Linked DNA regions of Homo sapiens: region 1 is linked to region 2. Evidence: promoter capture Hi-C in 16 types of primary human blood cells and fetal thymus (Javierre and others, 2016). All regions are on one chromosome and are shown on one strand. The core of a region is centred on a gene start or on the middle of the fragment in contact, and the rest is flanking DNA. Distances in the headings are between cores, read along the strand shown. Region 1 holds the start of TEX55 (testis expressed 55). Region 2 holds the start of IGSF11-AS1 (IGSF11 antisense RNA 1).

Evidence for each region. The method cuts DNA at HindIII sites, captures the fragments that hold promoters and counts their contacts. A CHiCAGO score of 5 or more calls a contact.
Region 1: a contact is called between the fragment with the promoter of TEX55 here and the fragment with the promoter of IGSF11-AS1 in region 2, in 11 of 17 cell types (total CD4 T cells, activated CD4 T cells, M2 macrophages and 8 more). The highest score is 13.6, in total CD4 T cells.

What each region holds. Positions count from the first base shown.
Region 1 is chr3:119,143,798-119,147,740 of GRCh38, forward strand. It overlaps TEX55 (testis expressed 55), which reads left to right and starts at 2,368. Exons shown (of 3, transcript NM_152539.3): 1 at 2,368-3,790. The coding sequence starts at 2,393. It also overlaps a transcript of IGSF11 not described here. RefSeq lists a silencer at 1,625-1,919. The HindIII fragment of the contact is 11,642 bases long and covers 1-3,943 here.
Region 2 is chr3:118,941,775-118,945,601 of GRCh38, forward strand. It overlaps IGSF11-AS1 (IGSF11 antisense RNA 1), which reads left to right and starts at 1,302. Exons shown (of 4, transcript NR_046230.1): 1 at 1,302-1,412; 2 at 3,088-3,216. The region is part of intron 1 of IGSF11 (immunoglobulin superfamily member 11); the gene reads right to left. The HindIII fragment of the contact is 7,141 bases long and covers 1-3,032 here.

The DNA of each region.
Region 1 (3,943 bases), core at 1,118-3,617, 200 kb after region 2:
GAGCTGGAGCTGCTATACTATTATCAGACAAAATAGACTTTAAGTCAAAAAATGTTATGAGGGACGAAGAAGTGCATTATATATTGATAAAAGCGTCAATTAAACAAGAAGACTTTATTTCTTCTTGTTTATAATATTTATTTATAGAAAATAATTATTTGTAGAAAACAACAAGCTCAAATTATATGAAGCAAACATTGACAGATTTGAAGGGAAAAAGAAACAGTTCTACAATAATAGTTGGAGATTTTAATACCCCACTTTTTTTGTGTGAAATAGGGTGTCACTCTGTGGCCCAGGCTGCAGTGCAGTGGCACAATCATGGCTCAGACAGCCTCAACCTCCTGGTCTCAAGCAATCCTCCCACCTCAGCCCACCAGTAGCTGGGACCACAGGTGCACACCACCACACCCGGCTGATTTTTTGTGTTTCTCACTTTGAATAATGAGTAGAACCCTAGACAGAAGGCCAGTAAGAAAATATAGGACTTGAACAACACTATTGACCAATTAGACCTAACGCATATGAAGAACATTCCACCCAACAAAAGCAAATACACATTCTTTCCATGGAATATTCTCCAGGATAAACCATATGGTAGGCCACAAAACAAGCCTTAATATATTTTAAAAGATTGAAACCATACAATGTATCTTCTCTGAACACAGCAGAATGAAGCTAGAAATCAATAAGAGAAGGAAAACTGGAAAATTCATACATATTTGGAAACTAGACAACATACTTTTAAACAACCAATGTGTCAAAGAAAAAAAAATCACAGAAAATGAGAAAATATCTTCAGATGAATGAAAACATAACACCAAACACTTGAGAGATGCAGCAAAAGCATCAGCTCAGAGGGAAATTTGTAACTATAAAACAGCTACATTTAAAAAAAAGATCTCAAATTGATAAATCATCATTTTGTAAAATATATACATACCTATAGATATAGACACATAGATTTGCATGGGGGTATTTCCAGAAGGATAAACATCAAAATGTCAATACAGGTTATCTCTTGAGTGTTTGGGAATTTTTTTCTTTACGCTTTCTTTTTTATATTTCTATGATTATTACATTTAAGTTATAAAATGGAAAAATAAATCTCCAAAACCAATAGCACTTTGAAGCTACAAGCCATAGCCCAAGACCTATTTTACTCTAAACACAGTATCCAATGGTGTCATGCATTTTTAAATAAATAAGGTAGATAATTCATAAAGTGACATTCAACAAGCACTTCTTGAGCACCTATTATGTTCTAGGCACTGTTACATAAATGACTTTACTTCAGTGTGCTTAGATTCCCCTTTCCATTCCTAAGTATGGTGTCAAGTGTATCCACTCTCCTTTGTCACAAGTATTTGAATTTGGATTTTAAGTCTCATTTCTAATTGTTTAATGCAGTTAAATCCCTACTAAAGGAATATCTGGCATCACACTACCAACCCTTGGCCTGCCTCAGTGATTTCAGGCTTTGCAAGGTCAAAGTAATTTGTCTCATCAATCACCACCTCTGTACTGGCCTACTCCTGAAAGTAGACAGCCTACTGACTCTGAGGTGCATTCTTAAGGTTGATTGCAAAGTGGGAGGACCAAATCTCAAAAACTGGGCCCCACTGGCCAACACTATCAAATACAAATTCTCCACTTGCTAAATATTCCTTCTGGTATCTTTCTCCCACTTTCCTTACTCCCTTCCTTTCTGGAACTCTGATTTGGCCTCCTTCTAACTCGCCTCTCTGCTGTAAGACCACTAGATGGTGCAGTTTTAGAACCCATTCTCACTGGATCTTCTCTCCTCTCTCTGGCTCTCCCGCCACAGATCACATGTCTAATCCAGCAAGAAAACACCTTGGGGCAGGAGTTTCCACTGCCAAGACAGCTATACCCAAAGGGGATGGCAATAGCAACAACCTCTGTTCAGTTTTGTGGTCCTCGTGCAGCTGGTTGTGTGTTCATCTGTTGACATTTGGAGGTGCGGTGGGGGATGTTAATCAGAGGAGCAGTACCTGAGAGAGGGCCTCTTTCTCACACACTGCGGAGAACCTCTGTGAACAAGGAAGAGGGTAACACTCTAGGTGGCGATGCACGGAGCCCCGTGGCCTGGTTGCTCGGCAGGGTGAGGAGAAGCTGTAACTGCCAGAGCCTGAGAATCGCCCCTTCTCAGGACATGGCGTACTCCCTGCGCTCGCCTGCACACTGCAGGGTCAGCTGACTGCCGTCCCTCCACTTACAACAGCGGGACGGCCACTCTCCCTGACGCACGCAGTGACCCGAACAAAGCCCGTGGGAATCATGGGGCGTTCCTGGAGGGTCGCCTAGACGACCCAGCCCAACCCCACCCACAGTGCCTGGCAACCTAGACCAGTCAGGGACGCGGCAGGAAATGGAAGAGCCTCCGCAAGAGGCTCTGGCTGAACCCTTGAAACATGAAAGCCCAGCCGCTCCCTCAAGTGCTGGCCACACTAAGGGCCAGGAAGAAGACGACCAGAAGAACCAGGCCGAAAGGAAGGCAGATAACCACACTGCTCACAGAATAGCTGACCAGACTGCCCTAAGAGTGCCTAGCCAGGCTGAATCCAGCATATTTAGCCAAGCTACCAACGGAGTAGCTGAACAAAATGGGCATAGTACACCTGGTCAGGCTGGCCGCAGAGCATCCAACCCTGCTGATGTTTCTGACCTTAGAGCAGATGATCAGGTTAATCAAACACCGTCTGAACAGACTAAAGGCAAGGCATCTAGCCAAGCTAATAATGTACAGCATGAACAGAGTGATGGTCAGGTGTCTGGCCTGACGGAGGAAAGAACTGCTGAACAGACTGAACGAAGATTACCTACCCAGGCTGAGAGAAGAACTTCTGGGCAGATTGATGGTAGACTGGCTATGCCATCTGACCAGAGAGGTTCCAGACAGACCGACCACAGAATGGCAGGCCAGTCTGAGAGAAGAGCTTCCGAGCAGATGGACCGCAGAATGTCTGGCGAGGCTGAGCGAAGAACTTCTGAGCAGATTACACACAGATTATCCAAACTATCTGAGAGAAGACCTTCTGTGCAGATTGACAGTGGGTCATCCGTCCCATCTGACCAAAGTCCTTCTGTACAGATTGACAGTGGATCGTCCGTACCATCTGACCAAAGACCTTCCGTACAGATTGACCGCAGAATGTCAGGGAAAGTTAGGAGAAGAAGTTCTGAGAAGACTGACTACAGATTGGCTGGCCTGGCTGACCCAGGAACTTCTGAGCAGACTGACCTCAGATTGTATGGCCTCGTTGACCACAAAACATCTGTAAAGACTCACCACCAAGTGTACGGCCAAGCCACTGAACTAGCTGAACACCAGGCTATTGACCAAGCTCATAGTAATGCTGATCAACCTCCAGTTGACAATGCTCACTACACTGAATCTGACCAGACTGACCACTTAGCAGACAGACAAGCTAATCATAAAGACCAGCTGTCTTACTATGAAACACGTGGCCAGTCTGAAGACAGAATATTTCCCCAGTTAGGCAACAGCAAAGAGGACAAAGAGGCTGACTACAGAGTACAACCCTGCAAATTTGAGGATAGCCAAGTAGACCTCAATTCCAAGCCTTCAGTTGAAATGGAAACTCAGAATGCAACCACTATCCCACCCTACAACCCAGTTGATGCCAGATTCACCAGTAACTTCCAAGCAAAAGACCAAGCTCTTTTCCCAAGACTCCCCTCCATCTCATCCAAATTGAACTATACCAGCAGTCAAGAAAAAACTCAAGCCATAGTAACCAAATCTGTAAGTTAAATGGGCATTTGATACCTACCTGGGAGATCAGAGATCTAGACGGGGCCTGGAGAGTAAAAATAGGGGTACAACGGAAGGGCACATGTTGCATCAAGGATAAAGAATAAACCCACATGTTGTGGTATGTGTGACCCATAATTTCAG
Region 2 (3,827 bases), core at 52-2,551:
TATTACTTATGAACAAAAAAAACCTCAAACTTCTGATATATGCAAAATGACTAAATGTTAAAGCTATTGTGCTAAGTGAAATAATCCAGAAACAAATGGCTATATACTGCATGTATCCATTAAAAAAAAATCTACGGAGAAAGCAAAACTATACAGGCAGAAAACAAAGCAGCAGTTGCCAGATGCTGGAGCTGGGACTGAGGGTTAAAGTTTGGCAGAGAATACTACATAGGGCATAAGGGAAGTCCTTGGAGTTACAGAAATAGTGTACATCACGGTTATGGTAGTGAACACAAGACGAGACATTTGTCAAAACATAGCAAACTATATACCTAGACAGAGGGATTTTATTGTATGTAAGTTATACTTTAAAAAAATGTTTTTTTAGAAAAAGGTATGTTGGGAAGCTCACAGAATCATGGAAATGGCTTGAAAAACAAATTAAGGGCTAATCTTCCAGGAAAACATCCATAACTATACTGTAAAACTGGCTTAAGAAAATTGCTGCAACTGTCCCTGTCACCAAACCCCAAATGCCAAAACTTTACTGCAACTACGAATGATGTCCCAGTGCTATATCAGGCACTTAACCCTACAACACTACCATCCTGCAAAGCCATACTCTTATGCTGCTATCTGTGCTAGCAATAGAAGCTCAACATAGAACTTGTTCTGTCACGTTTCTTCTTTCAAGTTTCTTCTTTCAAGTCAGGGCCAGAGACTCTCTATGTGAATCTGACTGAAGGGCCGAAGTCCAAGCTACACAAGAGGCCAGAAATTTAAGTTCTCATTTCTAACACTGGGGAGGTAGACTCATAATGTGGGAATTCCTCCAAATAGAAATACTATTCAAAATATGATTTGTCAGCCATGAATACGACTATGCTGACTACAGCAAGCAACAAATGAAAACAATAACAATTATGTCTTTCTCCTTCTTCTCTCCTACCTCTTCTAAGCCTATCTTTGTCAAGTTGTCTGTGTATTCCTTTATCTTGTCGGCTTTGCAGGGTGAAAAGATGAAACTACTGAAGACCAACAGGCTTCCTGTCTCTTGTGAAGCCTATGCTCACTGAGGAAGCTACAGTGGGGCAGAGGAGGTAGGAGGGGCTGCCTTTGAGCCTGATAAAGGAGAAAAAATACTACTGGGAGGGGAATGGAAGTTGGCCAAGTTCCTTGACAAGAGGAGATGCATGCTCTCCTTTGCTCAGAGGACAAAGGAAATAATGGTGCCTCAAAGAGTATGGCTGTCCTGGAGACTGGAGCTCTGGTCATCACAACATTCCATGTGTCCTACAAGGCACAGAAGCTGCAGAGCAACACAAAGGATCCTGCGGGCTTGAACAAGGGGCTCGAACAAAAAGCAGTTACTCCACAGAAGACCAGAGGGGTCCTCCCAGCATTGTGGCTCTGTAAGACAGACTGCAGCATATAGAGGGGAGCCTCAATAATTGATAATTATCACAATGATTTTTTTAAAAAGGGGTCTCAGATTTGAATTCAACTTGACATTTTAAAAAACAGATAGACATTTCTTACAAAACTTTGTGGAGCCTAGAAATGATGAGTAAAGTTTAAAAATAAATCTTAATGCCCTAAGCATTATATAAGGACTTTAAAAAAGATCTCTGTGCTTTCAAAAATTTCAGAAATCATAGTTTAAAGACAAGGCAGGGAATGGGCAGAGAAAACTGACAGAATCTAGGGGCTATTTTTTCGCTATTTCAGGATTGTCTTTTATTACAATGATAACCCTCTAGCCAAATCTGAACTTCCATGTGACTGGCCTTTTTCAGAGAAAATAAAATTTCTTGCTGCTTAGCTTTCTAAAGGACTTCTGAAAATCTAGGCTTTTAACTTGGATAATGAATAGGGTGAGAAGAATGTATTTTTCTTTCCTGTATACAGAACACTCTCTGACATTGTGATGCTATAGTTGCATGTCCTTATCAGTCTGGTTACTACATTGAGATTTATATTGGGAAATGCTATCTAGAGTTTCCAGATGGCAAGAGGCCAGATAAAGGGCCTTTGCTGTTAAATACAACCATGTACTCTCAACTTCACCACTTGGTTGAATATAGCTCTACTTGGCTATAATGAGCAAGCTCCATTTGTTTAATGAAGCATTCATATGACAAAAGTGGCTAAATCAACAAGTAGAGTTATTTATGAACAAATAAAGCCATCTGAAACCATCAGGAAGGATGTTACATTCTGAAACCAATTAAATTCTTTTTAAAAATGGCTCAACTGAAATATTTTATTCTTGTTCACCAGTAACACTGCTTCTTTCCAAATTAAACACTATTTTTAAAATTTTTCTTGATTTTTAGATATGTTTGTGTTAGTACTAATTTAACTTCTAACTAGTTTAAAGCATTCTTCAGTTTTTAACATACAAATATTTTAAATGTGGAAGTAAAGAGTTTGGTTATCCTTTTAGAAGTTCTCTTGAAGTCTAGGAATAGAGATAGAGGTAATATGGCATCATCATTAGGTTCTAATACAATGTATCTAGGTTTACTTTCTATGACCTTCAAGGCTCTGCTTAATCTGACCTTTGCCTGTTCTTCCAGCCAGTCTTACAGTACTTTCTTCCACAGTGGGCTTTTCTCAGGTTCAGCAACACACTGCACTCTCCCATCTAAGATTTATGTGGTCTATTGCCTTAGCTTGAAATACACACACACACACACACACACACACACACACACACACACACACACACACGATCCCTCTCATTTCTACCCATCCTTCAGATTTCAAAATTCTGCTGACCTCCAGAACAGACTACCCTTCCTTTTTAAATGCCCTCATGACACCCTGTACTTCCTTGATATAGTCACGACACTTTAAATTCTCTTAATAGAGGCCTTTCTCAATTTGATTCTAAGTAGAACCTATATGCTCGGGTCTCAGCACACAGAGACCATAATACAGTAAATGTTCAATATATTTGATGTTCAATGTACTTGATGCTATTCATCAAGAACTTATGTGCCAAGTATTGTTTTAGGCGGTTTATATAAAGCTTAGTAACAAACAAGACTTGGAGGTGATATGATTATTAATCGTATTTTACAGATGAGGAAACTGAGACCCAGAGATGGAACTGGGATTCAAAACAATGTCTAGTGTGACTCCAGAGCCTTTCCTAACTCCTACTTAAAGCCTCTGAGGAATGCTGAAAAGAGCACAGGACATAGAATCCAGGTACAGCTACTGACTAATTGTGTAGCCTGGGGCACATTATTTTAACTTGTTGGCTTTAGTTTTTTGACATCTTTAAGAAAAGGCATAAAAATATCTGCCTCACAAAATCACTTTGAAGAAAAATACATTAAATGCCTTGCACAAAGGAGGTTTTTAATAAATAGCAATTGAATTTGATCTCAAAAAATAACCTAACATACAAATAAGCAGGGAAAAAAAACCAGAAAACAGAGGAAAGAAAATAGCATGTATTCACCTAGTCATATAATCGTCCCAGTAGCATCAAACTTCTCAAGAAAATTGTGGTCATACTCTTATTTTGACAGAGACCTACAACTGTGATTATTAAAAGTAATACAAAGTTACTCTTAAGCATATATTAGGAAGAAGCTTATTTTGGCATGAGTTATTACATATCTATGCTTTCCACCCTGTCACCTCAGAGTAGTCAAAAAACTTCCCATGATGAAGCCGTGGTGAAATTCAAAAATGAAATGTAAATGAGAAGTAGGAAAGAAATGTTAAAAAACAAAAATTGGTAGGAAATGAAAAGATAAGACTAAATGAAACCACAGAGTGCCGGAAGAATAAGCAAGGAAAGAATAGAGGAA